Regions from separate parts of the Homo sapiens genome. Here all the other regions are linked to region 1. The links are contacts of gene promoters, found by promoter capture Hi-C in blood cells and fetal thymus (Javierre and others, 2016). All regions are on one chromosome and are shown on one strand. The core of a region is centred on a gene start or on the middle of the fragment in contact, and the rest is flanking DNA. Distances in the headings are between cores, read along the strand shown. Region 1 holds the start of TTI2 (TELO2 interacting protein 2). Region 2 overlaps NRG1 (neuregulin 1). Region 3 overlaps NRG1 (neuregulin 1). Region 4 overlaps NRG1 (neuregulin 1).

Evidence for each region. Contacts are between HindIII fragments. The CHiCAGO score rates a contact against its expected background, and 5 or more counts as called.
Region 2: a fragment that was not itself captured here is called in contact with the fragment with the promoter of TTI2 in region 1 in 4 of 17 cell types (monocytes, M0 macrophages, M1 macrophages and 1 more); the score reaches 8.8 in monocytes.
Region 3: a contact is called between a fragment that was not itself captured here and the fragment with the promoter of TTI2 in region 1, in 1 of 17 cell types (M0 macrophages). The highest score is 5.2, in M0 macrophages.
Region 4: a fragment that was not itself captured here is called in contact with the fragment with the promoter of TTI2 in region 1 in 1 of 17 cell types (M0 macrophages); the score reaches 5.2 in M0 macrophages.

What each region holds. Positions count from the first base shown.
Region 1 is chr8:33,508,103-33,515,772 of GRCh38, forward strand. TTI2 (TELO2 interacting protein 2) reads right to left here and starts at 5,033. Exons shown (of 8, transcript NM_001102401.4): 1 at 4,980-5,033; 2 at 3,865-4,610; 3 at 1,644-1,830. The coding sequence starts at 4,511. It overlaps SNORD13 (small nucleolar RNA, C/D box 13), which reads left to right and starts at 5,373; the gene lies at 5,373-5,476. RefSeq lists enhancers at 5,065-5,204, 6,725-7,014 and a silencer at 5,635-5,684. The HindIII fragment of the contact is 19,476 bases long and covers 1-7,670 here.
Region 2 is chr8:32,581,383-32,589,052 of GRCh38, forward strand. The region is part of intron 1 of NRG1 (neuregulin 1); the gene reads left to right. Among named protein-coding and RNA genes, the nearest start is that of NRG1, 37 kb to the left of the region's middle. The HindIII fragment of the contact is 1,327 bases long and covers 2,037-3,363 here.
Region 3 is chr8:32,596,793-32,604,462 of GRCh38, forward strand. All of the region lies in intron 2 of NRG1 (neuregulin 1), which reads left to right. Among named protein-coding and RNA genes, the nearest start is that of NRG1, 52 kb to the left of the region's middle. The HindIII fragment of the contact is 1,582 bases long and covers 2,908-4,489 here.
Region 4 is chr8:32,615,234-32,622,903 of GRCh38, forward strand. NRG1 (neuregulin 1) reads left to right here. Exons shown (of 12, transcript NM_013964.5): 5 at 1,602-1,652. Among named protein-coding and RNA genes, the nearest start is that of NRG1, 71 kb to the left of the region's middle. The HindIII fragment of the contact is 152 bases long and covers 3,189-3,340 here.

The DNA of each region.
Region 1 (7,670 bases), core at 3,783-6,282:
AAAAAAAAAAAAAAAAAGACGAAAAATTTATCATTCTTAGTCTAAAAAGTATAAAAGCATATTGCTTTGGCCACTTCTTCAGAATACTCTCTCTTGTGAAGATCCCCATGTACACGTAAAACTAATAAAATGTGTATAGTTTCCTCTTGCTAATCTGCCTGTTGTCAATTTGGTTTCTAGATCCAGGAAAAGAGCCCACTAAGAGATAAAAAGGGGGCTGAGGCCGGGCTCACGCCTATAATCAATCCCAGCACTTTAGGAGGCCGAGGTTGGTGGATCACTTGAGGCCAGGAGTTTAAGACCAGCCTGGCCAACATGGTGAGACCCTACCTCTACAAAAAATTTAAAAAAAAGAAAAAGTAGCTGAGCATGGTGGTGCGTTCCTGTAATTCCAGCTACTCTAGAGGCTGACGCACAAGAATCGTTTGAACCCGGGAGGCAGAGGTTGCAGTGAGCTAAGATCACACCACTGCACTCCAGCCTCCAGCGTAAGCGACAGAGCAAGACTCTGCCTCAAAAAAAAAAAAAAAAAAAAAAGGGCAGGGGGGCAGGGTTGGAGGTGATCTCTGGCTCTCCCCTACAGGTACATGGAGATTAATTATACCACTCTCTCTACTTCTGTGTATATTTTAAAAGCTCCATAGTACAAAGTTTTTTTAAAAAATTTTTCCTTGAGTAATAGCTTCCACATTTGGATATAGTCCCTTTCAGGCTCTGATTTTGTTTGTTTTGTTTTCGTCCTTGAAACTCAACTGTAGGCCGGGCGGGGTGGCTCATCTCTATAATCCCAGCACTATGGGAGCCCAAGACAGGCAGATCACCTGAGGTCAGGAGTTCGAGACGGACGTGGCCAATATGGTGAAACCCCATTTCCACTAAAAATACAAAAATTAGCTGGGTGTGGTGGCTGCTACTAGGGATCCCCAGCTACTAGGGAGGCTGAGGCAAGAGAATCACTTGAACCCGGGAGGCAGAGGCTGCAGTGAGCCAAGATCACACTCCAGCCCAGGCGACAGAGTGATAATGTCTCAAAAAAAAAAAAAAAAAAAGAAAGAAAGAAAGGAAGTAGGCCAGGTGCAGTGGCTCACGCCTGTAATCCCAGCACTTTGGGAGGCTGAGGCTGAGGCAGGTGGATCACAAGGTCAGGAGTTGAAGACCGGCCTGGCCAAGATGGTGAAACCCCATCTCTACTAAAAATACAAAAATTAGTTGGGCATGGTGGCACGCACCTGTAATCCCAGCTACTCGGGAGGCAGAGGCGGAGAATTGCTTAAACCTAAGAGGTGGAGGTTGCAGTGGGACAAGATCACACCACTGCACTCTAGCCTGGGTGATAGAGTGAGACTCCCTCTCAAAAAAAAAAAAAAAAAAAAAGAAAGAAAGAAAATCAACTGTTGACCAGTTCTCAACATCTGGTTATTCAGTTTGATAATGACCCATGCCTTCCTGTTTCTTCTATAATTATCATTTTAGTTATTACATTACCTATAGGATACAACTTCTACCAGGTGGATAGAGGAAAAATATAAGGAGAAAATACAAATAAGTAAAGTTGAATGACTTAGCATTACTAGAAATGAAGAACAGCCAGGAATGACTCAGTCTGTCCTGTCAACACAGATGACAAGCCAGAGGTTGCTTACCACATTAAGCACAATGTGATGGAGACAGTGTACACCCAGGATTTTGTTCTCAGTCTGATAGTCATCTGAAATGACCAATGATGCGGGAAGTACCCTTTCCAGATGCTGGCTCAGCCAGGGCCGAGTGACCTGTTGCAGAGTCCATGAGAAAACATGTTTGATGGCAGGGTTATTCTTCCAGGATTCCCTAAGTGAATACATAGAATTACATTAAGTGACATGGTGATAAGTAGCAAAAAAAAAAAAAAAAAAAACTACTTCAAGCTAAACAGAGTATTTTCATGTCTTTGAAAAAAAAAATACATCGCACATAAGATAACTCTTGATTCTATATCATACATTCTAAGATCTGGATTAAAATAACTTCCATAACTTACACCAAATAATCATCCAGGGCTTTGGGTCTACAGCCTATCCAATGAGAAGGAGTCAATTATAACCAGAGCTACATAAAGGACTTATGGTGATGGATGGTGAAGGTATGTTGAGAAGGGAGGGAGGAGTAAAGGAAATGGATTAGTAGTATTACACTAAGGAAACAAATGAATCAACACTTGAACACCTGTTAATCGCTAATAAAGTGAGTGTACACACGACTTAACTAATTCTCAAAATAATTACTGTGTAATAGGTACATTATATTTATTTTGAAATAGAGTCTCACTCTATTGCCCAGGCTGGAGTGCAGTGGCACCATCTGGGTTCACTGCAACCTCCGCCTCCCAGGCTCAAGCGATTCTCCTGCTTCAGCCTCCCGAGTAGATGGGATTACACACTTGCACCACCATACCCGGATAATTTTTATATTTGTAGTAGAGACGGGGTTTCACCATGTTGCCCAGGCTGGTCCTGAATTCCTGGCCTCAAGTGATCTGACAGCCTTGGCCTCCCAAAGTACTGGGATTACAGGTGTCAGCCACCACACTCCGCCAAGTATATTATCTTTATATTAGAAACAAACAGATTCAGATAACTGTCTAATCTGGTCCTACTCAGAGCAACAAATAGAAGCACGAAACTCAAAATCAAGCCTTTTAATTCCGTGTTCCTGGTAAAATGACAGTTACAGATACTTTTTCTCTCATTACTCCAGTGCTAACAAAGTAGCAAGTGGAAACTCATTGAAAGAACTTCAGCTAACAGTAATCTAAAGGTGCTTTTCACTTTTTATCCTAAACATGGCTTTCTTAGCTGATAGTCATCCTTCTCTAACAAGCAGTAATGAGATTCAAGATCCCCAAGTCTAAATTCAAACCATAAGTTTAAATCCTCTCTAAATCCCCCATCCAAATTCTAGTAATTTGTAATTTTTTTTGAGACGATGTCTTGCTCTGTTGCCCAGATTGGAGTGCAGTGGCCCGATCTCAGCTCACTGCAATCTCTGCCTCCTGGTTTCAAGCGATTCTACTGCCTCAGCCTCCCGAGTAGTTTGGATTACAGGCGTCCACCACCATGCCCAGCTAATTTTTGTATTTTTAGTAGAGATGGGGTTTCACAATGTTGGCCAGGCTGGTCTCGAACTCCTGACCTTAAGTGATCCACCCGCCTCGGCCTCCCAAAGTGCTGGGACTACAGGAGTGAGCCACCTCGCCCGGCCACATTTTGTAATTATTAACTCCAAGTAAGTGGGACAGAATTTCCAATTTTCCTAGGCAGTCGTCCTAAGGGCTGGAAAGAGCATTGGACAACTGAGCCCGAACATCTCAGTTATGACCTCCAATTTGCCACTATCCAGTTATGTCATTTATAGCAAATCACAACGTTTCTGGGCCTTAAGAGATCCGTGGTTACAGCACCCTTATTTTACTGCTGAAGAAATTGAGCTTCCTTTGAGGTATAACGCTATAAAAAATTAAGCTAGGGCAGGCGCAGTGGCTCACGCCTGTAATCCCAGCATTTTGGGAGCCCGAGGCGGGTGGATCACTTGAGGTCAAGAGTTCAAGACCAGCCTGGCCAACATGGTGAAACCCCGTCTCTACTAAAAATACAAAAAATCAGCCAGGCGTGGTGACGGGCAACTGTAATCCCAGCTACTCCGAAGGCTGACACAGGAGAATCGCTTGAACCCAGGAGGCGGAGGTTGCAGTGAGCTGAGATCGCAACATTGCACTCCACCCTGGGCAACAAGAGTGAAACTCTGTCTCGAAAATAAATAAATAATAAAAAATAAAAATAAAAAACTGTGAGGCTCAAGTCGGTGGCAAAGGGCAGGAGTACTCACTTATACAAGTCGGGTTTGAGAAGCCCTAGTATCACCGAAAGTCTCCCTTTCTCATCTTCATTTTCTCCATGTAGGAATCCTGCCACAGAACCGCATTCAGTAACTTGAAGCAGTGAGGTGAGCACCTCCCTAGCAACTTCCCGAGATCTCGGAGTGGTCCATGGTTGCTCCAAGCTGTGTGTGATGGCAAAAATATAAACGGGTCCTGCCAAGTGATGCAGGCCCGTCTGCCATGCAGGGCCGACCAGGGAATTCTTAGCAGTCTCAACTTTCCCTAACAGTTTAAGAAACAGTAACCCAACTTGGGCTGCTTTCTCGGCCGCTTCGGAGTGCCCATCACCTCCACCTTCCTCCTCCTTGGAGGGGGCTGCATACTTCTCCAGGGCTTTTGCTACCTGCCCCAGTGTCTCCGGCATTCCGCGGAGCCGTGCACCAGTCCCCTCAAATAACCTATCAAATTCTGTGGCTTCTATTAGATCACCGAGGTCTTTAAGAACTGCATCTTTTACATTGCCTCGTCGTGCCTCCGGGCGGGCAAGACAGTGTAAAATCTTGGAGAAGGCCTGTCCAAAGGCGGAGTGAGACAACTCCTCGGACAAATTAGAGTCTTCCTGCGATGGGGCTTCCAGAGCGCTGTCAAGCTCCATTCCTGACTGCAGCACCAGAAGGCTGGTCTCTCCCACAGAACGAGGATGGAGGCGGGGAGGGATCCGTTGAAGAGGGAAGGAGCGATCACCCAAAGAGAACTAAAATCAAATAAAATAAAACAGAGAGATGTCTTGGAGGAGGGGGCGAGTCTGACCGGGATAAGAATAAAGAGAAAGGGTGAACCCGGGAGGCGGAGTTTGCAGTGAGCCGAGATCGCGCCACTGCACTCCAGCCTGGGCGACAGAGTGAGACTCCGTCTCAGTAAAAAAAAAAAAAAAAAAAAGAATAAAGAGGAAAGGACGCAAGAAAGGGAAAGGGGACTCTCAGGGAGTAAAAGAGTCTTACACTTTTAACAGTGACGTTAAAAGACTACTGTTGCCTTTCTGAAGACTAAAAAGAAAAAAAACTTAAAAATTTAAAGAAATAAACTTCTGAGCCATGTCACCAACTTAACCACCCCCAGGTACCTGCAACGGCTCGCGCCCGCCGGTGTCTAACAGGATCCGGACCTAGCTCATATTGCTGCCGCAAAACGCAAGGCTAGCTTCCGCCAGTACTGCCGCAACACCTTCTTATTTCACGACGTATGGTCGTAAAGCAATAAAGATCCAGGCTCGGGAAAATGACGGAGAGGTGGAACTATAGAGAATAAATTTGCATATATAATAATCCGCTCGCTAATTGTGTTTCTGTTTTCCTTTGCTAAGGTAGAAACAAAAGAATAATCACAGAATCTCAGTGGGACTTTGAAAATATCCAGGATTTTATACGTGAAGAATGGATGTATCGCATTACGGTAGTCACCCTATGTGTAAATTAGTGGCACATACTTGGCACTCCTTAATGTCAACTATAAGATGATCCTTTTGTAGTTCATGAGCGTGATGATTGGGTGTTCATACGCTTGTGTGAGATGTGCCACCCTTGAACCTTGTTACGACGTGGGCACATTACCCGTCTGACCTGAACTTCAAGGATCGATTTAACACTTGTATTTGTGGGCTTGTTACTTATGATAACAGGTGGCCTAGTTTCATGGCTTTGTGTTTACCGTTTTCGGGTGCCCTTTTTTCTGGCTGTATGCTACACGCACGGGTGCTTTTCCGTTGTCCAACTGTGTAATGTGTTTTTGTGTTTGTTCTTTTGTGAGTCGGAGTCTCGCGTTGTCGCCAGGCTGGAGTTGCAGTGTTGCGATCTCGGCTCACTGCAACCCCCACCTCCGGTTTTCGAGAGATTGTCCTACCTCAGCCTCCCGAGTAGCTGGGACTATAGGCGCGCGCCACCACGCCCAGCTAATTTTTGTATAAATATTGGCAAGGATGGTCTCGATCTCTTGACCTCGTGATGCGCCCGCCTCGGCCTCCCAAAGGGCTGGGATTACAGGCGTGAGCCACCGCGCCTGGCCAATGCAGAGCTTTTTAATGGCTTTAATTTTTTAGGTTTGGGAGATACCTGCGCAGGTTTGTTACCTGGATATGTTGTGGGATGCTGGGATTTGGAGTGCAGCTTAGCCCGTTTTCATTGCCCCCTCTAGTAGACCACAGTGTCTGTTGTTGCCACTTTTATGTCCACGTGTTCCTAATGTTTAGCTCCCACTTATGAATGAGAGCATGCGGTATTTGGTTTTCTGTTCAATGCAATACTTTAGCTGGTTTCTGGAGCTAGCGTTTTAAAGCCTGTAGCCACAAGCGTTTGAAAATTCAAATTCTAGCGTCAAGGTAGAAGCCCCCAGCTGGCGTCTGGGGCAGCCCTGAGGGAGGTGGGTCGTCGGGTTGGCGGATCCGGCTTGGGCCCGCCCCGCCAGTGTCGGCGCCGGGTGCGCAGGGACAGCAGAGCGCTGTCTTGGGCATGGGTCGCAGGCGGCGCCCGGAACGGGCCAGGGGAGCTGGAGGCTGCAGACTCGGGCTCGGCGGGTGTAGGAACCAGTGGTGTTTGCTTGGGTTTTGAGAAGGCGCGAGAAGGGTCGCGCCTGTGCGACCGCCCTGTGTTGGGTCCCCCACGCCGCGTCGGCATTGCTTGTTCCCTCTTCCTGCGCTTTCCTGGAGGGTAGAATTGCGTCCGATTGGCCTTCAGTTCCCGAGGAGCTGCTTCCATTTAGGACCTTGTGACTCTCATAGCTTCCACGGTTTCGCAGGAGCCCGAGGAGGCAAACTTCATTTGTGCCACTGCACAGGCGGGAGCTTCGGACCCTGGGAGGGGTGGCGCGAGAGAGACGTGTCGCCAGCTGCTCGGAGAGGGACTCTTATTCAGCCTCTAAGGCGTCAATTGCGCCTCCAGGGTTCCAGGAGTCCAGAGAAAGCCCTTCGGGGTCTTCTGACCTGGGGTAGGGTGAGGGGCGTGTGTGCGCGCAGGGGCGAGGGAGGGGTGACGTGTCAGGTGTCCTTTGTCCTCGCGAGGAGGTGGTTATGGGGTAGAGGGACATACAGTATTTTCGTCCCACCTTGGGGAGCGCACCAGCTTCTTGGTGCACTACTTGCAACTGTCCCATCTGCGGTGTCTTGCTGCCTACTCGCCTGCCCTTCTTTCCATTTTGCTGTCTGACCTTGGGCAAAAGTTCGGTAGCCTCTCTGTGCCTTCATTTCTTTTTATTTTTTATTTAATTAAAAAATATTTTTTTAGAGACAGGGTCTTGCTCCGTGGCCCAGGCAGGAGTGCAGTGGCGTCATCGTATCTCACTGCAGCTTCAAACTCCTGGGTTCAAGCGATCCTCCCGCCTCAGTCTCCCAGTAACTGGGACCACAGGCGCGCCCTACCACACCCTACTAATATTTTCTAATTTTTTTGTAGAAATGGGGTCTCGCTGTATTACCCAGGCTAATCTCGAGCTCCTGGCCTCGCGATCCTCCCTCCTTGGCCTCCTAAAGCGCTTAGATTACAGGTGTGAACCACCCACCTCGCTGGTGCCTTAATTTTTTTTTTCTTTTTCTTTTATTTTTCCTTCCTTCCTTCCTTCCTTCCTTCCTTCCTTCCTTCCTTCCTTCCTTCCTTCCTTCCTTCTTCCTTCTTCCTTCTTCCTTCTTTCTTTTCTTTCTTGTCTCCCTGTCGCCCAGGCTGGAGTGCAGTGGTGTGATCTTGGCTTATAGCAACCTCTGCCTCCCAGGTTCAAGCGATTCTCATGCCTCAGCCTCTCGAGTAACTGGGATTACAGGCACCCACCA
Region 2 (7,670 bases), core at 1,450-3,949, 930 kb before region 1:
AAATTCAATATGTTTTTACATAAATCCTGTGCATTAAACTAGTAGCTCACTTGATATGGAGTGTTTGAATCACAGATTGACTTTGCTCATTCGTTCTTCCATTCAGTCAACATTATTGAGCACTGTGCTAGTTATTAGGATAAAAGATGCATTAAAAGAATAAAGCCCCTAACTTCCAGGAGCCTCTGTCTCCTAAGTGAAACAAACATGTGTAAAGATAAAATACCTTATATTAAATGGAATAATAATGGTTTTATAGAAACATGGAAGAGGGATACTTAACTTATTATTCAAAAGAGACACTTATTCGAAAGACATAAATTGAGTTTAGTCATCTTGAGTTTTAGAAGAAATAATTTTTGATTTATGGAGGGATTGCAAATATAGGACAGAGAGTTCTCCTATACCCTTTATTCAGCTCGTTTAATAATACATAGCTTTGCTATATTGATCAAAACTAAGAAATTAACATTGGTACAATACTATTAGCTAAACTGCAGACCTTACTTGGATTGAACCATCTTACAGCCTTTTGTGCTAAAGGGAAATTGTGTATGAAAGTGCTTTGTAAACAGTAGGCTAAATAGTGGTAGTCTAAGAAGTGCCATCTGGTGAGCCCAGGGTAGGTCACTGAGGGTGAAAGTTGCATTCTCTGAAGGGAGCTTTAAATAATCTAACCATGAACTCTATTTTATTTTATTTTATTTTATTTTGTTTTGTTTTATTTATTTTTGAGACAGGGTCTTGCTCTGTCACCCAGACTGGAGTGCAGTGGCATGGTTTCAGTTCACTGAAGCCTAAACCTCCTGGGCTCAAGTGCTCTGCCCATCTCAGCCTCCGGAGTAGCTGGGACCATAGGCACATGCCACCACACCTGGGTAATTTTTGTATTTTTTGTAAAGATGATGTTTTACCATGTTGCCCAGGCTGGTCTCAAACTCCTGGGCTCAAGTGATCTGCCTACCTCAGCCTCCCAAAGGGCTGGGATTACAGGCGTGAGACACGGCGCCCAGCCTGAGCTCTCTATATTTTAGTTTCCTTTAATAACATGATCAGTTCCACCCATGAATTTAATTAATTCCTTATGAGTTTGCTATTAAAATAAAATGAGCGGTTATTGATGCTTATTGTGTGTGTGACAGTATCCTATTCAAAGTATGGGATACAGTTCTTTGATTCTCTCACTCCATCCTGTGGAAGGTAAACTTACCTTGCAGATGAGGATGAAGTTCACCTAGGTAATAGATGGACTTGGCCAAGCCATGAGACTTTAGGTGGGAAAACTGGAATCAGAACCTGAGCCAACCTGACTTCAAAGCCCAAGTTTTCTCCTTTGTGTTGTCTCCTGAGTCATTTTCCTGTATAGCCCCGCTGAATAAGCATTTTCCAAATTATATTTTGTATTGTGCAAAACTTCACTTCCTTTTTTATTCAAAGACTATGTATTTCATGCTTCAAGGTTTTCTGAGAACTGCAGTATTCTGCAAATTCTCAAAAAATGCTTTTGCTCTTTCTAAGATTTCATGACTTTAAAGAACAGTTACTTTCTTCCTGGCCTTCCTGGTGTCAGTCTGTATGATTCTATAATGTTTAGTGTATTCCTTTATATTGGCTGCCCTTTCCTTTGAGCATTTCGGTAACTTTTCTTGATAGTTTCCAGCTACTTTTTTTTTCTTTTTGTCTCTCAAGAATGACCAAAAGTATATGTAGTTTTTCAGATATTTGTCATGTAATTTCGTGCCATCTAGATTTATATAACCTAACATTTTCTGGCTTTTTCTTAGATATTTATAGATGGTGGTGGTTAAATCAGAGTTAATAATATTAATTTTTAAAATATGCAAAATGCTTTTATTGCTCTTTTTAATTAGGTTTTTACAACTGTATTGAAATAGGTGTGGCAGGTGCTATTTCCCCTCCTTTTTCTGCTCAAGATGATTGAGATTCAGAGTAATTTTGTGACTGCTTCATCCTGCAGACCAAACAAGTACTTTACCTAAGTTTCCTGTCTCCATTCTTTTTGATAGGGTCTATCAAGCTTGTGGCAAAAGCTCAAGATGTTATGTGTAGAGTTCAGTAATTTAAATTCATGGACTTATAAACTATTAACAAAGAATCTAATTAACCTTCTTTCTAAGTAAAAACAAACAAAACAAAAGATACTTCTAGTAGAGTGCCAGTGTCTTTAGGGATTCATGGGGAATTAATTAAATTCATGGTTGGTACTGATCATGTTATTAAAGGAAATTAAAATCTAGAGAGCTCATGGTTAAATTGTTTAAAGCTCCCTTCAGATAATGCAAATTTCACCATCAATGCCCTACCCTGGGCTCACCCAGAAGGCATTTCTTAGACTACCACTATTTAGCCTACTGTTTACAAAGTACTTTCATACATGATCTCATTGTTCAGCACGAAAAAAGCTGTACACAAGTTGGTGCAATCCAAGTAAGGTCTCCAGTGTAGCTAATAGTAGGGTAAGGAAAACGATATGTTGACATGCTAAGTGAGCTTCATTTTGACTTCTTTCGTGTAACATGTTTGAGTCTTTGTGCTGAGAAAATTGTATTACATTCTGGGAGTCAGTGGGTTGTGTCAGAATGTGTGGGAAGCAGCTCACTTTCACTTTCAAAAGATTCTTTAAGGAATTTATGCTTTTTGTAAAATAGGGGAGACTATTTGGACTCTTTCTTATTGGGATTTCTTTTTGTGTGTTTTATGAGACCAAAGGGCACTGACTTCCATCATACGGTTTGACTTTGGAGGACAGTACGGGAAAGTGCAGCAGCCTTGTAGTTATAGTGGCCACAGAATGTAGTCACAGAATAATGTAGCACCAGGTTTCTTACTGTCAACAATCTGTTTAATTTGATTTTGGTTATTTTCCACCTCTTCAGCAAATTCATGTCACTGGGAACCCTAAGATAAGGAATTTGCCTTCCCTGATCTTCCTGTGGGGTAGAAGTAAAATGATAAGAATTCAATCGTTAGGTTGTCCATGGACCTGCTTAAGAGTGCAAGGAGGTTTTAAAGGTCCTTAGAAAGTCAAATGTGGACCCTGCTGAAGAAGGGATGCAGCGTTGCTTACTTAAAACTGTAGTGAACAGAGAAGAGAGAAATTTAACTTTGATATTGTAGGCCTCAACGAGTAAAGAAGGCTTTCAATCCTGGCAGGTACTAAGGTTTTAGTATCATTCTCTTTAATAAGTCATCTGTGGACAAAAATGAAAAAATCAGAAAGCCATAATTACTAAGAAAGGAGATCTGACTAAATAACAAAGAAACAGATTTTAGAAGTCCTGAAAGGACACATTTGTTTCAGAATTAGCTCTGCTAAAATTTTTCTTTTTCACAGAAGGAATAAGCTTTAAATGGCTATGTGAAAAATAGATTATAGGGAACTAATGTTCTTAGATCATGAATCAGGGACTTTGTTCATTTATATGCACTGCTTAAAAGTTTTCACATAGTTATCATTGTTTAAAACTAATTATAATCAATTGCTAACTCATCTTACCTGGGAATTTATTTAGTTTAGAACATGTAAGTAAATTTCTTTAAATAAAAAAGAGAATTTTAGTGGCATGAATTAAATGTAATTCAACTTGAGCAAAGAAGAAATGGTTATAAAGACAAATATTAACATATCAAAATCATGTTAATGTGCTAACTTTACCTAAGCAATAAACACATCAGAACAGAAAAAAACTTGACAATAAGAAAATAAGTAAATATATTTTTAATTTTTAGTAACTAGATGTTTCTCAGTTTTTCTGTTTAACATTTTGGAAGTGAATATGGCTGGTATGTATAATGCATAAGAAAAAAATCCTGTTTTATGACAATGGAAAAAATCATATTTATAAGCTTATGTCATGTGAACTTTGCTACACATCAATTAGGTAAAACTGTACTGGATCCATTTTAACCCTGTGAGTTGATTGCTTTCAGTGAAGCTTGCTGGACATCTTTATGTCCGAGAGTGAGATGTTCTTATAATTAGGGGCAGCTGTGGTGACAGAATCAATTAGGCAGGCCTGCTGAACACTTACCTTCCAGCTGCTGGCCGCGGCGCAGTGATTTGCTCCAGCATTCATTGTCACGGTGTATTGCCTTTACACCTCGAAAGAACAACATTAATCCATTAAGCCACTTTTGTTGCTGTATCCTCACGTGGGGGTTATCACATCGCAGTGAACACAGGAGTGAGATACAGCACTGTTCACCCTTGTGGCATTTGGCATATGACAGATAGACAGCTGCATAGTTCAAAAGAATTATTTTAACACCAATCGCAAGTATTGCCTTGTTTTATTTCCCCATCAATTATCCAAGTAGCTCAGAAAATTCAGCAATTTTGCATATCTACTGTATTTCTCAGACTGTCTTTTGCACGTGGAATAAGTGCAGAAATAATGTCATGTGGTGTATCCCAGGTTTTGTGAGGAAAATATGGACCCTATTGATAGATCATTAAATAAAATCTTTAGCACATTGTCTGGTAGTTAAGAGCCAGGGCTCTGGAGTCAAACTTCCTGGGTTCAGATACTGACTTGATAGTATACCAGCCGTGTGACTATAGACAGGTTACTTTACCTCTCTGTTTCTGTTTCTTCATCTGTAAGTTGGTGATAATGGCAGTAATACATATCTCCTGGAGTTATCATAAAACTTAAAAACGTTAATGAGCATAAAGCTCTTAGAACAATGCCTGGCACATAGTAGGTACTCAAGTATCAGCTATTATTATTCAAAGGTGTTTATTGTTGAAAGTACTATATATATATATATATATATATATAATGTGTATATGTATACATTACATTCTACTATATATACTATATATAAATATACTGTAAATAAAAAGGACTTTATTTAACTTCATCTCATAGGCTTTGGAAATACATTATAGTTGTTTTAAGATTTTTATCTTTAGTCCCTAACTGTGAAGTACAGGGCAAGGAACTGTATAGAAAAGAGAGATTGCTAATTTCAATAAATAACTAATTTCAATTATCAGGGTGAAAAATTATCTCACCTAATAAACCTGCATTCATTTTCCCTTGTAGAATTTTACAGTATTGTAAATTTCTCACAGACAAATGTGGAGAGGTGATTTGGTTTACATAGCTCATTATAAGAACAAAAAATTTACTGTAGTGGCTATGAAATGGAGTGATCTTTCCCAGATTTTTAATCTACTGTCCTTCTCTCCATTTTCTGCCTCCACTTCAAACTTTGTAGAAAAACTAGGTATGGTAAAAAGTCCTAGGTTTAAGTTTTGGTTCTGCAACTTGTTAGACTTACGACATTAAGTTCCCCTATCAGTTTCCATCTCCTCACCTGTAAATGGAAACAATCATTAGGTACCTTACATGAAATACACACCAGAACTGTTGCAGATGAAAGGAGATTTGACCAAATAGTAATTTTGCGGATATGTAGTGACAACAAGGCACATTAACAGTTAAGGGAGCAAACCAGCATCTTGTAGACCATGGTCAATCAATGGAGAAGAGCAACTTTGACTTGAGGGCATAGGAGGTATGGTGGCTGACACTTATAATCCCAGCACTTTGGGAGGCTAGAGCAAGAGGATTCCTTGAAGAGGATTGCTTGAAGTGTTTGAGACCAGCCTGGGCAACATGAATCTCTGTATACAACAAAACAAAAAGCCCAGCGTGGTGGTGTGTGCCTGTGCCTGTGGTCCCAGCTATGTGAGAGGCTAAGGCAGGAGGATCACTTGAGCTTAAGATTCTGAGGCTGCAGTAAGCTGTGATCACATAACACCACTGCATTCTAGCCTGGGTGACAGAGTGAGACTCTGCCGCCAAAAAAAAAAAATTAAAGCAGAGAAGGTAATGTGCTTTTCTTGCAATAATACAAGAACCGTCTGACCACTCTGGGTAGACTCTGAAATTAGGTGAAATAAATGAGCTAGCAAGGAACATGACCAGGGTCTCGGCTGAGGCAGGGTCCAGTTTGAGAGTCCTCCAACAGTGATGGCCAGATAAGAGAAATACAGAACATGAAAACTTCAAAGTAAAGATAATACGACTTACTTGACAATTTTCCAGTTAGATTTACATGTCATTTTTGTTAGTGTCTGATGGCAGAGCGGCATAAGAGTCCTAGCCCAGTGGCATGCAGAACACAAACAATGTCACAGGGCCTCACGATTCCAAATAATAAAAAGTCATAGAGAAGATAGATGGGGCCTCTGGAATCATTTTGTACCTGGGTTTCTTCTTTGTCAGCATCTTCCAGATTCTTCCTCATCCTTTCAGCAGACACTTGAAGTCCTACTTTGGGTTAGGAGAGCCTGAGATCCTGTATATCTTCCATTCAATAAATTCAGAAATTTTGATGTTTAGGTATAGTATCAATCCAAATGGACACATACACAGTCAGGAAATAGCCTAACCCTCCAAATAGAGACTGTGACCCCCTGCTATTAACTTGCTGACCCTTGTTTGATTTCGTAGGGATAAATTCCTTGAATGGCCCTCTGTTTGTACATGTGGGTTTTTTTGTTTTGTTTTGTTTTGTTTTGTTTTGTTTTTTGAGACGGACTCTTGCCCTGTCACCCAGGCTGGAGTGCAGTGGTGTGCCCACTGCAATCTCTGCCTCCCCAGTTCAAATGATTCTCGTGCCTCGGCCTCCCTAGTAACTGGGATTACAGATGTGTGCCACAATGCTTGGCTAATTTTTGTATTTTTAGTAGAGATGGCGTTTCACCATGTTGGTCAGGCTGGCCTTGAACTCTTGATCTCAAGTGATCCATCTGCCTCGGCCTCCCAAAGAGCTGGGATTGCAGGTATGAGCCACCAGCGCCCAGCCCTCTACATGTTTTTTAAGTGCAGTCAGTTGAGTATGGTTTTCAGATGGAGAATCTGATTAATCATCTTCAATGGCCTTAGCATAAGCATTCTATTTAACTGAGCTGATTGTGGCTCATACCCTCAAATCAAATATCTTAAAGAATCATACTGTTTCAGTCATCGTGTAGCAGTTAATTGTGAGAAGTGAAACTTGGAGGACATCCGTATGTAAAATCCCCCACCAAAGGAAACCAATATGTTTGGGAAATCAAAATGAAGCACTAGTAAGAAGCCAACTCTGGCTGTAGTGGCACCACTGTGATGAGTGTTAGCATAAAATGCTGAAATACTGCCCCCAATTTTATTCTTTTATGTTGTATAATGAAACGTTCTATGCATGTTATGTGCTTGCAAAGAAATTATTCAGTAGTTCATATACACATCGTTGGATTACATAAGGAGCTGGACATGGAACTGCTAGAATGGAATTTCCAGAGTCCAGCCATCTTAACCCTACTTTGAAGCCTATTCCCAGTGTGTTTGCTGGTTGGATTTAGTTTGCTGCCAGTGGTAAAGAGAGTCAGCTTGAGAATATATTATAACAAAATACTGAATTTTATGGCAACTTTTATTTCAAATGAAGGTGCCATCCTCCTTCCTCAGTAGTCAGGGACAAATAGCAGCTCCATTCCAGCTCACAGGGAACCCTATTTAACTTGAATCAAGAACATTCTGTCTAAGCCTGATTCAGCTAGAGCACAGGGCGGGGTGAGCACAACATCACCACAGGTGGCAACAAATAATGATCTTGTTGGGCGATTCGGGATATAACCCAACATCACCCACTGC
Region 3 (7,670 bases), core at 2,449-4,948, 910 kb before region 1:
CTAATAAGAATTTTTAACTGACACTGCTGATAAAGCACATCATCATTCTAGCAGATTTTAAAATTAGGTAATCTTAGGTAGCAAGAATTTTACATGTTCCTACCCTCCCCGAGGAGGTCCATATTTGACAGGGCTTCATGTGATTCCTGTAACATCTTGGTGGATGCATTCTGTATCTACTCTAAAATGATACTCTGTTATCATCCCTACACTCTTCATTCTTATTTACTTCCTTACTTAAGAATCATTTCTTCTAATATCAAACTACATTTTGAAATCAGAGAAGAGATAAGTGGATTAGATTTTTGCTTCTAAAGAGTCCTTTAATCAACGTGACATGTATAATAGTGGTTCCAAACTCAAAGATGATATTTTCTGCACTCACATCTCACAGGGTTCCAGTGAACCCCCAAGTATGGTAACAGAAGCAACAGAACAATCTCCTATACTTTGATTTTATAGGACATTAACCAGAAAGTTGTTACACATTCATGAGCAAAGTGATTACAATGAGAATTAAATTTAATCTTATCAAAGATTTTGCTCTGATGACTGTATTTTCTTTTCTAGTTTCTGTGGTTTTATTAGCTACATACTTTATTAACTACACGTTGACTCTAGTTATTGATCATGTCAGATAGATCTATAGCTTTGGAAGTATAATAAAGTGTAAAAGAAAGGGTTGTATCACTTTCTGCAGCAGGTGGTACTTCAAAGATACAAAATATAATACTGTAAAGAGACATGGCATTTTTATACCTAATATTACTAATTTTTTTTACATTATTCCAATATGTAGCAGTTCAGCAGCACATGGCAACTATCTTATTTTGCAGATTAGGAAATTGAGGGTCAAAAAAGTGTTCTGCTTTGCCTCAAGTCATATAACTAGTAAGAGACTCAGTGAGAGCTGAGTTTATCATTGTTATACCCATTAAAAATGTAATATACTGAGAATGAAATTAAGTTTCTTCCTGTAGATCATAGTGGTAATTAATGGTTCAAGTTAGATTTGAAATAGGTCTGACTCTAAGTCTCATGTTTAACAGCATATGTGCATGAGGGGAGGAGGAAATACAATGAATGAATTGAAAAGATAAGTATGATTCTTACAAAGAAGTTTAACAGGACAAAAAAATACTCCTAGATTTTGGATGGAATGGATTTTGGTGTTTGCTTTTCATCAGACAAGTTAGTAAGGAATGAAGTTATCTCTACATGCAGGGTAATGTCTCATTTATTTCTACGTGGCTGTCAAAGGATACCAGTAATATTTAAGTGCCCATGAAAGGTTTTATGCTAGGACTGTGGAGAAATTAAAGAGGTATAGGGCATTACAATCTCTGTGCCCAGGGGCGGGGGTCATAAGATTGTACAGAGATTATCTAGTTCAGTCTTATATGAAACATGGGAAATTTTGGAAGTTATGTATTGAAACACTGTTAGAGCAGGGGAGGAGGAAGGGAGGGAGGAGAATTTCATCTAGAAGAAAGCATCTCACATTGCAGATATTCAATCTGATGCTACCTGGAGAGAAGCAAATGAAGTTCGGTAGATAAGATGAGAAAATGAATTTTTTTAAAAAAGTGAACTGACTAGAATGAATAGGCTTTAGAAAAGGTACATGTATACTTAAAGAGGTAATTTGTTACCTGGCTTCAATGACATATAAAAGTATCATTAGTATTCAGAAAAGCATTTTCATATTGGCTTCATAGGTCCAGACAGCTAAGAGCACTGTCTACATATTAATAAAATCCCATTATACCAGAAAGGGCAATAGTTAGAAATTACTTCTTTTAAACAATAGTCTTGCTGGAAAGAATTAAATGGGGAAAAATGTATTGAAGTGATGCAACCATAAATCACTCGCAGCAAAGCAGTTAACATATTTGATCTAAAAATAAGACATACTTTGTATAGAGTGGACAGCTACTTGAGAAGCGATCATCTTATCAGTTTTTAGAATTGGGTATTTTGTCATTTCTAAAATTGTGTCTTTTTATAAAGAAGAGCATTGTCAGCTTTTTTAAGATTAAAGGTTCCAACTGAATCTCAATTTAATTAACATTTGCAAGGTGTTCTATTATTTCAATTTATCCAGTAAATATAAGTAGAAGGAATATAATTATTGTTATACCCATTTAAAACATTAATATCCTGAAAATGAAGGAAGCTGAGTTTCTTCCTGTAGATCATAGTGGTAATGAATTGTTAAACTTAGATTTGAAATAGGTCTGACTCTAAGTCTTGTGTTTTTTCAACAGACATTTGTGATTATGCTACATAAAGTTAGAAGTCAGAACATAGGGCTCTGGCATGCTTAGGATAATGTCTTTAATTAAAAGATTCTTATTTTTCAGATGCATTTATATATTACTATTAATGATTTTTAATTACTAAGATATTCAGACTATTAGTGTTTTGCAGTTGTTAGTTGGTTACTTGACTTAAACTTTTTCTTAGGCTATGATCAACCAAGCAGAGGTGAAGTTTAGTTTGAGGTGTAAGATTTTTCTGGGATTCTCTTTAATTAAATACTTTGACTCTTTCCCAATCCTTAGTCTTGGCTTCTTTTTCACACTTCTTATAATCAGATTATGCATAGCAGCCAACATATCCTTTTAATCTCTTGGTGTTTAGTGGCACAATTTCACAGCAATATGCAATTTCTATTATTTTGTAAAATCTTACCCTTGTTTTGCCCACGGTCCTACTAAAAACTACATTCCTACGTGTTCTTTGTATGATTTTTGAATTCCCATTGAGCCTTTGTTTATTTGGCTAACCCATGTGTGGGGCCAATGAAAAGAAATGGAAACTACCCTCATGTTATATGTCTGCTTATGTCTTTGTTCTTGTTTTCTTTGATTGGTGGATGATTTTGATCAAGAAAACTGGTTAAAAAGCTTGGCGTGTGACAGATTCATATGTAAGGACTGGCAGATTGACCTCATTTAAATACCTGTTCTATCTTAGCTTTATTAAAGACTGGCTTCCTATTATTTGTATGTTTCACACACTTTTGGACACCATTAATTTTGCCTCAGCTCTTACATATTTTAATTTTGTTTAAAATTGGCTGTCATTGGTTACATTGGACAAATATTACAATTATTTCCTCTATTTTTACTGGTTGCTTTTTTTGACTTTATAATGGAAAAAGTTTATGTGCATTTCTTTTCTCATATTAGCTGAGCAACTCTGGCAGATCACTTGAACTTTATATATAATGAAATCTCAATGTTCTTATGTAGAAAATGAGAATCCTCAGTGGCATTCCATATGGTTTATGTGAGGCACTTGGTACAGTGACTGGTTCTGTTGCTTAAGAAGCCTCTCTTTTAGCCAAGCACAGTGGTGTGTACCTGCAGTCCCTGCTACTGAGGATCTCTTGAGCGCAGGAGTTCAAGACCAGCCTGGGAAACATAGCAAGACCCCGTCTCTATACTTAAAAAAAAATCATAATTTCCTCTTTCACTTCTTTGTCCTTTTCACGATGATCAGTTTTACACTATCTGAAGCAGTGTTGGACACACACACACACACACACACACACACAAACACTGTCTATATAATTCCTTAGGGGTCAGGGAACCAAAACTGTATAAACAGAAGAGTTCTTCCCTATATGTGTTTAAGTTGCCTTAGCCTGTAACTATGGTAGAATAATCGAGTTAAAATAAAACTAAACTAAATAATAGCTAATGGAACCTTGAATTCACCTTGTAAGTGAGCACACAGTAAAAAACACAGTGTGCTTTCTGATATTAAAAAAATGAAAAGGAAATTAATATTCAGAACTTTTTATCTTCAAATCACTTCACATTAATTTATTTTTACACTGTACTGTTTTTTCTTATTCTAAAAGTAATGCATGCTTATTATGAAAATCCAAATATTTCAGGAATATAGAATGTAATTACTATAATAATAGCTAACACTTATTGGGAAGTTACTATATTGAAAAAATTATTTTAAACACTTTACACGAATTAACTCATTTAATATTTTTAGAAAATAAAAATCCATTGAAACACCAACCTTCCTCCAGATCCCTAGAAAACTCATCAATTAAAGAGCAAAAAGTTAAATTTATGACTATAAGGGAATCAAGTAGTCTTTCCAAGCTAATTTCCTTCTTATAGACAGAGTATGGTATCTTACAGAAAAGAAAAAAAGAAGACTGTTGTATCCATACTTATCAAAGCCCCAAATCTTTTTGCAATATATAATTTTCAAGGAAGATTTGGCTCATTCTACACTCTTACTACATTCTGTCCTTACTCTAGGACACAAGGCTGGATGAATCCCATAGTTAAATGTATCATTAGAATTCAGAGGGATGTTTATGCTCCTTGAGGTCAGTGGTTTTCCAATGATGTCTCTGTAGAGTCCTAAATTTCTATTGAATTGCAAAAAGGATTACCAGTCACTCTGACCTGGAACACTTTCTGTGTGATATTTTTGAATATGAGGTTCTGATTTAAGCTTTCATTTTAAAACAGGATTTTGTTGTAAAAAATAGTTGAAACCACTGATCTAATTTAATCTTTCTCTGCACAGAGATATTCTTGTAGGAATGTGCTTGGCAGGTGGCTATCCAGACTTGAATCTTTCCAAAGAGAAAACCTAACTCTTTCACAAGACACCCTATACATTTTTGAATGCTCAGAAAAGTGCTTCTATGTAATATCATTCAAAACATGTTTCCTTTTTCCTGTAAGACTTAGTTTTCCTGTAAGACTTAGCAATCCCAAATAATTTCCTTTTCCATATGCATCCTGGAAATATATTTAAATAGCTACTCATATTTCATTCATAGTTGTCTGCCAGTGGGACCTCTGTTTCTTTAACATAATCCTCTCTAGTGATAAGATTTCTAGGCCCTATTCAATTCTGATCACCCTCTTCTAAAGTCCTTTAATTATGTTTTTTTATCATCAAATATCATTCCAAAGTATATCCAAAGTATAATTCAGCATTCTAGATATGATCTAGCCGATGAGGAATGTATTGGGGCTTTTATCCAAGTTGATTGATGCTCTGCTTTAATATTAATTTGGCTAAAGAGTACATAAGGTTTTTTTTGTTATTCTTTCTTCTTAAAAATAGTTTTAAAAATGGGTTAATAATAAGCATGTGGCTAATTAGAAATCCTTATTTCTGCATATATTGTAGTCAAGGGATATCTCCTCTTGTATTTATGTCACCAGTTTTCGTACGTGAATGTACTTGTGATGCTTATCTCGATCAAATTGAATCTTAGTCTTGGCCCATTGATGTTCTGTCTTAGGATTCCCAAGGGTGTTCTCCATAGAAAAGATTCCATGGCCACATGTCATGGCTGCCTTAGAAATTCACAGTACAGATTTGCAAAAATTCACTGAGATGCATTGTTGTAAAGAGACCTATTTAACTTTTTTTAATGCAACATTTATTTTAGCATAGAACCATTTTTTTTAAATCTCTCTTTCTTTTAAAGCCTAACATTTGATTGCATTACTAGGAATAGTATTCCAGGAAACAGTGCCAAGGCCTATTAGGAGAAGTTTGATTTTAAGACTTATCCCTTTAAGATTATGTTAACTGTAAATATGATTACCATGTTTTCTTATAGTTCCATCTAGTTCAATAGTTAAAATGTTAATTGCATTGGGTCAAGAAAGGGGTCTTTACATACAAACACGATTGTTCCTAGATTTGTATAAATAGGAAAGAAAGGTTGTTCTTGAGGGTGTTGTAATAATCTTGGAGTTGTAAATTCTTGGGATGTTGTTGTAATCTTATCTCAGAATTTGGGGACTTAAGAAAAGCTACAGTTTTCTTACTTTAGAAATTTACTCCTTCTGTGGCATTGAAAATCAAGATACTATGCCCCACCCTGATATTGTTCATAATTTATCTATTATTGCTAGTGGTTTCATGGTTATACATGAAAATTCTTCCAGCAAACCATGCTAAATGTTGGGCTGGAAAATCTTACAGTGCTTATCCATTTTTTTCCTCACTATTTTTCAAAGGTACCTGTCATGAAGGAAACTTGTCATATATGATCAAAGTAGATATATAGCTGATAATCCATTTAAAAAATCATACGGTATTTGAACGCTCCAAAATTCAGCCCCAAAATTAATACAGCCTGCATTGGGTGATATTCTAATATTGTTTTATTTCGATAATTTTAAAAGTTGTCATATTTTATTGTTAAGACATATCTATTTGCAAAGATACTTGTCATCAAAAGGCCCATTTTGGCTTATAGGGATATACTTCAGGGAAGCTTTCCTATGAATAATGTCTCTGGTTGATGTGTGAATATTCTTTAAATGGCCCTTGGTGGTCTCCCCATTCCTAGATAGATAAGGCTGTTAAATTACATCCACTTTTTGTCAACTTTGTTCCGTGGACCATTATTTTCAGAAAACATTAACAGATATGCCTTGTGAATGAAAAGGATTCCATGGTCAAAGGAGTTTGAGAGAAAATAAATAATATATCCCTTTTCGGGGAGTCAGAGTACAACAGCATATTCAAGATGCTGAGAAATCCTGTGAGATTAAAGATAATGAAAAGCCTGTCTTTATTTCACCTAATATTTTCCAAATTTATTTGAATGTGGAACACATTGCTTTGTTACCTCATGTTTACCTGTTGACATCGAGTCCCGACTAGCGCAGTTAACTTTTCTTTTTCTTTTTCTTTGACCAAGTCTCACTCTGTCACCCAGGCTGGAGTGCAATGGTGTGGTCTCGGCTCACTGCAACCTCTGCCTCCCGGATTCAAATGATTCTCCCGCCTTAGTCTCCTGAGCAGCTGAGACTACAGGCTCATGCCACACACCTGGCTAATTTTTGTATTTTTAGTAGCGACAGGGTTTCACTATTTTGGCCAGGCTTGTCTTGAACTCCTGACCTCGTGATCTGTCTTCCTCGGCCTCCCAAAGTGCTGGGATTACAGGCGTGAGCCACTGCTCCCAGCCGTGAAGTTAACTTTTCAACCCCTATGTTGGTTTGACCACCACTGCCCCTGGTCTGGACCACCTCTGATGGTCTTTGCCCTCTCATTATGGCATTTTTCTTTCCTCCCAACCAGCCTTAGAAATATTAGGTTCTGCTGAGTACTTAAGCAAACATCCAGATATTTTATTCATTCATTCACACATTTATTCAATAATGTCTGAAGAGAAAGCATAGCCTGATGTATGCTCCACGAGACTAGCAAGAAGTTGACATTATAGCTACACTCTCCAAAGTATATGTCCTAGGTCAAGAGATGAGACATACTGAAGGAACTCTCATGAGAGGCGTACTCAGGGCTGTCAGAATTTAGACACGTGAGAGCAGCTCCAGCTACATGACCAGGAGGGGCTTGGTGAAGCAGTTGGCACCTGACATGGCCCTGGAAGGTCAGCTGAGATTTTGATGCATAGGAATGCAGGACCCCCATTGTAGGAAGAAAAAATGACACAGACAAAAGCACAGAGGTGGAAGATCAGGGGGTCTACATGTGGAACTTTGGGTGGTTCAATCGGATAGACTGGAGGATACTAGTAGGAATTATATTTGGAACAATTGATTTTTCTCAGTTAACATTAATGTGTGACAAGAAGACCAGAAAATTCACCAGAAAACTAGCAAAGTATAACGTGGGAGATTTGCAACCAGAAG
Region 4 (7,670 bases), core at 2,015-4,514, 890 kb before region 1:
TTTTTAAACTTTTTCTTATTCTTTGTAATGCTATAATTAATAGAGCCTTAGAACATTTAAAAATTAATCTTTATTTGGAAGAAAATTTTTGAAGACCCAAGATTGGAAATTCATCTCAGAGGTACAATGGTAATTTGGTTTTGCATGGTGCCTTTTCTTTTACAAAAATTCTTAAATTTCATTTGATAATCACAATAAACTTGTGAAACAAGACATCATTTTTCCTCATTTTACAGATGAGAAAACTGAAGTATTAGAAATGTTAAGTCATATACCTCAGGAAGTAGAAGAGAAGGTATTTCAAGTTCGATATTCTTTTTATTACTCCACATTTAATATTTTAGCTTCATTGAGTTTTTCATTATGGCTGGTACCTTGTTGAAACTATAGAATGACCTATAATCAACATGTCTTTTTCCATCTTACCTCCATCATTTCCTCTTCCCTTCAAAGCCATTTTTTAAAACCATAAAAGCTAAACATCTCTGTATCCTAGACTACTTTAGCTATATTTAGGACATATTCATATGTCATTACTAAGATATAAGTGTATGTGTGTTGCGGAATGGTATGATCCTGGAGTCTAAGAGGTTGTTACTCTTCTGAGGAAAGGAAGGAAGGAAAAAAGAGGAAAAGAGAGAGAAAAAAAGAAAAAAAATCACATATTCTAAATTTCTTCACCTTTCATTTACACGTTTCTGTAATATAGGGACTTCGTTATCTGACTCCAGTAAATGCCATTAGGAAAAAAAGAGCTTTTACATTTATATGGAACTTATCTTGGGAAATTGACTATAACTATTATTTCTTAATATGTGACTTGAATCTTGATAACTTTCTGGCTGTTGACTTTCAATCCTTCTTTGATACTAAGACTTCTTTATTTCTTACTAATGAAAACCCATCCGTTCCATGCTTTTTTCGGCATGAGTCATATTTTTCATTCTCTCTGTACTTAATGACTGTTTTTTCTTCTTTTATCTTTGCTACCTGAGAAAATCTTGCTACTAGATATCCCCAACTATTGTATGATTTATTTAATTAGCATGGTTTGTTTGATCCTAATGTAATTATTCTATTGCTCTAGCAGACTTTGCATGGACTTTTCAGCACTTTCTGGTCCGGATGTTTATGCAGATCCAAGTTGCCTGGAAATACTCTCAATCTTGTTTGTTTATTTATTTGGCATGCATGAAAATTGGCTTTCACTCTCTTGGAATCCAGGGGCTATTCTCTTTGGTTTCATGTTTTCTCAAAATCAAGACCACATCTGAAAGAAGGAATTTTCTTTCTCACCTGTGGTGTGTATCTCCTCAGAGTAGTCTCTCTTGGAAGTTCAGATAATGCTTGGTGTGTGGGATATTCTTACAGATGGATTGACTCCATTTTCATCCCTTTTAAAAGTCTTTGGGTCTAGACTATGGTAATATTCCTTTGTGGTCTTTGAGTATTGCATTCTGACTTATAAATGCTTCAGCTTCTCTGTTGCACGGTGTTCTACTACTCTTTTACTAGGCGATACCCAAGCCTGGCAAATTTCTAATTTATGAGTCCAAGCAGCATGACTCAATAAAGCCTCATTCCACTTTTATGTTTTATAGAGTCTCCCATTAGAATATCAGTATCCACAGAAGGAGCAAATACTTCTTCATGTAAGTATACTTAAATATTCTATTCACTGGTTTTTAACCCAAGGCACTATCTGCTTTGGAAGGTCATGTTCACGTCTATCTTCTGCCCCTATTAAGGGTCAGAGTATTGAGTTTGGCAATAGGTGGTATTTGCTGTTTGGAGTAGAAATGGCCTCCTAATATGCTTAAGGACAACTAGACATCCTGTCCTCCCAATATACATAAGAATATTAAAATACACCACAAATGTATCAGTTTTAGGGTAATCTGGTGGCTTTGAATATTGAAAAATAATTGCACAAGTTCTGAGGCCTAATTCCTGGCAAGCAGTAGAGCACATTGTGTGTCTTTTCAGCTTCTCTGGATGCCTTCAGCAACTGCCTGAGGCATGATACCCAGCTGTTTGGAGCTTCCGTTCCAAAACTTCTTCATTCTCATATAAAGTTAGCTGTGATGGAGTAAGAAAACTATATATAGATGCCCTTAATTCAAATTTGATAGCAAGTAACTGATTATGAAAATGTTTGAAAGCAAGCCCCTAGGCAAGATCTCAGATTAGTTTTCGTCTATTTAATGTGAAATGGGCTTTGTGCTTGTGGACTTCTATAACTGTTAGATTGATTGGGGTTTTGTGCTATGTCGGGGGAACTTAAAATATTAGCAAGGACTAGTATAAAGAGTTTTTGATACTTATAAATTGAGAATATCATCGTATTAAATTTTGATACTCAACAGGGGAGTTTATCAAACCTTGAAAATTAAACTTATAACTACAGTCTTTCTCTTCCTTATGTTAGCTCCTTATTTAAAGCATTTCTCAATTTGATAAGCTCTTCAATAAATAGATGTTCCTAGTTATTCTATTTCGATCTGGGGAGTGTGTTGAAGGAACAATTTCCTTTTGCTATCAGCAGGGTAGGAAAACTCATGAAAAGAAAGTCTGTCCTTTTGGCAATTTAAGTTGTTTTGTCAATCTGTTTAAATAAATCCTGTTTGATGTTACAGCCTTTCCCTCCAGGTTGGTGATACTAGAACTGTAACTATATGGTATAAAATTATCTTTTATTGTGTGAAGTATGGTGTTTTGGCTATATTTTAACTACATAAAGCGTCATTTAACTGGATTGATGGCAATAGCCTGGTGAGATCAAACAGGAAATGAAATGCTAGAAAGGGCCAAATTAGTTTCCTATGTGTTCCAAGGGCTCTCATCATATCCTCCAAAATGATAATTTCTGCCGGGGAATTTGTGCTATTTGTTTTTTAATTCTACTTATAAAAAGATTAGTATAATTATATGGATTTTATGTAGCTAGCATCCAGGAATCACATTGAGCTTTTTTTTTTTAAGTGTTTATTCTGCAGAAGCAAATACTAGGTTTTTCTTTTTTGGCATTTTGTCTGGAAATAATTTCTCTCCTGTGTGATTCATTGAATAAAGTTATTGAAACTCTTGTAATTGGAACCCTTCATGCTATCATCAATGGGACCATAGATACTATCCTTAAGCATATCTGAGCAGTTTGAGAATGTAAAAAAATACTTTTGGTTTTCCCAAGCTTTGGGGAACTGAAATAAATCTCTCAGTTTATGTTTCTATTCATTGCATTATCACTGAGAGAGAAATAATTATGAAATCTGACTCCATTCCCTAATTCTCAGTAGAATTAGTTTTTGATATTTGGCAATGGTTTAAAACTAAGAAAGGAAGCTTTGTGTACCATGATATTAAAATATTTCAATGTGCCATTTTCACACATCAGTCACCCGGGGTCATGGTAAGTTCTCAGTAAATATGGTTGAATTGATTCATGAACACATTTTTTTGTGGAACTTAATTTTATTAGGAGAATATAAACAATGAATATAATAAACTAGTAACACGATATATTAGAAGGTGCTACGTAGTCCAAAAATGAGAAACAGTAGAGGAGGGGAGGGGATAAGGAGAGTTGAAACTTGTGATTTTTATTAGGTTGATCAAGGTAAGTCTCATTAAATTGTTGATATTTGGACAAAAAGTGGAAAGAAGTGAAGGGTTAACTTTGCAAACATCTAGGGAAACTGGCTGGGCATGGTCGCTCATGCCTATAATCCTAGCATTTTGGGAGGCCAAGGCGGGAAGATTGCTTGAGCCCAAGAGTTTGAGGCCAGTCTGGGTAACATTAGTCAGACCTCAGCTCTACAGAAAATTGAAAACTTAGCTGGACTTGGTGGCATGCACTTGTAGTCCCACCTTCTTGGGAGGCTGAGGTGGGAGGATCACTTGAACTCAGGAGGTTGAGGCTGCAGTGAGCTGTGATTGTGCCACTGCACTCCAGCCTGGGTGACAGAGGGAGACTCTGTTTCAAGAAAAACAATCAAACAAACAAACAAAAAAACATCTGGGGAAACTGTATTTAGGCAAAGAACAGGCTGTACAAAGGCCCTTAGACAAAAGCATGGCTCATGTGCCGTGTAGGGGACCATAAGGAGCCCTGTGGGGTTGGAGTAGAAGGAACAAAGGGATGAAATATAGAAGATGAGGGCCACAGACCCTGGGGTCTGAGCATGTAGTGCCTTGTAGGCCATTGTCAGGACATTGGTATTTAATGGAATCACTCTGGCTCCTGTGTGAAGAATGGCTCACTGGGAGGAAGGGTAGAATCCAGGATCCCAGTTAGGTGGCTTTTGCTGAGAGCATAGTGGCCTGGCCCAGGCTGGTAGCAGTAGAGGTGGCAAAAAAGTCAGTCTGTAATAGTTTGAAAGTCAAGCCAGCAAGATTCCCTAACCAATTCATTGTGAGGTGTTAGAGAAAGAGAAAAGCCATAGGTAAAACCAAGGCTGCTTTTGTTTTTGGTTTTTAACTTTTGGTGTTCCATTTGATTTTCTTCTTTGGCTTTTTCATTATACTTCTTCATATTAACTATTGTTTTACTTGTTTTTTTATAATTACAATATGCATGTTTTACTAATCCTAGTGTGTTTTTTAAAATTTTAGATTCAGCGGGTACATTGGCAGGTTTATTACATTTTTTAATCTCATGAAAATATGCTCTTCAGTTTGAAAATATAAACCAGTCGTGGCAGGAACCAGGTCCAGTCTTAGTTACAATAATGAAAATAGCATGAAGCACACAGTCCATTTCAAGGCAGCCACACGCAGGACTTGCATTGCAGGGAACGACTGTGAGGTACAAATATCTCCATTTAGTAAAGGCTGAAGGTGAACCTTGAAGAGTCAGCAATAACAATAAGCCAAACTCAAAAATGCCAAATATATAAAAAAGTCAAAGGCCTCAGAAAAGTTTGCCTGGTCAAAAATAATCAGCTTCAAAGAATAGATTTCTTTTCACTTTATTTTAGCCAGCAAGGAGATGCTAGTAAATCCCTGTATTTGAAAAGCGAACTCTGCTTTTCTAATGTGATTGTGCCTGTACCGGCTACATTCTTTGAACTAATGACATTGGTGTTTTCTAAAGTAAATGTTGAAAAGCCTCTCTGAAGTAGTATGGATTCAGCAAACATTTTATGTATTAAACAGTTCTCTGCGATTTGGGGGTCAGTGTAAGACAGGGGAGGCTTTCAGAGCAAACAGATATAGGCAGAGGAGATGGATCTGACTTCACAGCCCCCAAAGTTCCCTTTTTTCCTCTTTAACTCATGTTGGATTAGAAGAAAAAAAAAAAAAAAAAAAGAGCAGGCATGGTGGCTCATGCCTGTAATCCTAGCACTTTGAGAGGCCAAAGAGGGAGGATAGCTTGACACCAGGAGTTCGAGACTAGTCTGGGCAACACATTGAGACCTCATCTCTATAAAAAAATAAAGAAATTAGCCAGGCTTGGTGGCAGCCCTGAAGTCTCAGCTACTTGGGAGGCTGAGGTGGGAGGATCACCTGAGCCCGGGAGTTTGAGGCTGTCCTAAGTTATGGTTGAACCACTGCACTCCAGCCTGGGCAACAGAGCGAGAACTTGTCTCTCTTAAAATAAAAACAAACAAAAAAAGAAAGAAAGAAAAAGAAAAAAACAAAAAGAAGAAAATAGAAGTCACTCACCTACCCTTCTACCTACTTAATATATTATAAGCATTTTTCTCATGTTTTTAAATAGTAATCAGAAATATATTTTATAGGTCACTGTAACAATAAAGAAATCATTCTTGACTGGAGGTTTTTAAGGGATTTTTTCATTTACAAACACATTATCGGTTTTGCCCCCTTTCTGTTTATTTTTCCTACCACTTGTAAATATTAGTGAAATATCAAAGTTCTTAGTCCTTCCCTTTGTAAGACAATTTTTACTACTCAATTTTTGGAAATTGGAAACTTCCATTGTTCATTCACTAGTTTAGAGTTGTTAATTATATTTTTAAGTTCTTTATACTAATCTAATAAAGATCAAAATTATAATTTTCTTTATTTTCTTTTGTTTTTTGTAAATGAGGCATCTGTGACTAAAAACTTATAAATAATTGCCTAAATGAGTTTTCTATTACATGTAAGTGACAAGTTTTAGGAGAAGAACTTGAACCTTACAAAACAGTCAATAGGACTATCTTGCTGCTCCTTTTATAGAATCAGCAGAAGTAAAGTGATTGTTTGGAACAAGCCTTAATGACTTCTTCTGGAGATGCCAGCTGCTGGTAGCCCCATTTTGCAGACAATTCTGTTGAATACCATAAAAAATTGTTATACCAACCACTTTGCTGAATTAAGCACCATCCATTCCAATTTAATACATAAATGAGGAAAACAAAACGGAAAATCTAACAAATAGTAATAGGAAAGAAAATCAAGATAAATCCCGGGAAAACAGTTGAAGTGGTAATATCTGTTTCAAATATGAATAACAGCAAGCATTTATTGAAGGCTTACTGTGTGCCAGGTGTTGTGCTAGATGTTTTACATGGATGATGACTCATGGTTATCATGAAAACTTATTACACTGTACGTTGAAACTGATACATGTTGTCCAAAGTCACACAGCAGCATTTAACCCCAGATAATGCAGTGGACTGCTATGTCACATAACGTTTTGCTGCCTCAAAGAAAAAGCCCTTACTATTGAAAGAAATGGGATTCTGTGAGTGGATTGAAAGGTAGCCTTTGGCACCAAGTTTATTGGGAGTATATGTGGTGGATTCAAGTAAATGACTTGTCTGGGGCCAGTTGTACCCAAGTGATCTTCATGTTACACGTCAAAGCATGGCAGGTGAATGAAATGGGAAGAGCACAAATGCTGAGTGGACTCATGCTCTTAAGTCTAAATACTAATGCTGAGGACAATCGCGGTGGCTCATGCTTGTAATCCTAGCACTTTGGGAGGCCATAGTGGGAGGATTGCTTGAGCAAATTGATCATTTGAGCCCAGGAGATTGAGGTTTCAGTAAGTCATGATCTCACTACTACACTCCAGCCTGGGCAACAGAGACCCTGTCTCAAAAATAATAAAAGAAATAAATTCTGGTGCTGCTAATTACCGTATAATTTTAAACAAATTATGTGACTTCCCTGAGACTCAGTTTCATCTCTCCTCTCCTCTCCTCTTCTTTTCTGTTCTGTTCTTTTCTTTTCTTCTTTTGACAGGGTTTCTCTCTGTCACCCAGGCTGGAGTGCAGTAGTGCACTCATGGCTCACTGCAGCCTTGACCTCCTGGGCTCAAGCCATCTTCCTTCCTCAGCCTCCCTAGTAGCTGGGACTACATGCGTGTGCCACCACACCTGAGTAATGTTTTTTAGAGACAGGGTTTCGCCATGTTCCCCACACTGCTATTGAACTCCTGGGCTCAAGTGATTCACCCATCTCAGCCTACCAAAGCGTTGGAATTGCAGGCATAAGCCACCATGCCTGGCCCCGAGATTCAGTTTCTAGGTCTGAAGAATGCTATTTATTTTAAACATATATTGGGAAGTCTAATGTGAGAAAATGCATGTATATCATTTAGCACAACTTTGCTTTAAGATGGTCCCTTCATGTATGGAAGAGAGCTAGTGTGTGGAAAAGTGACATGGCTCTAAAAAGAGAATAAAAGTCAGAGAGTCTCTACATCTTACTTCAACAAC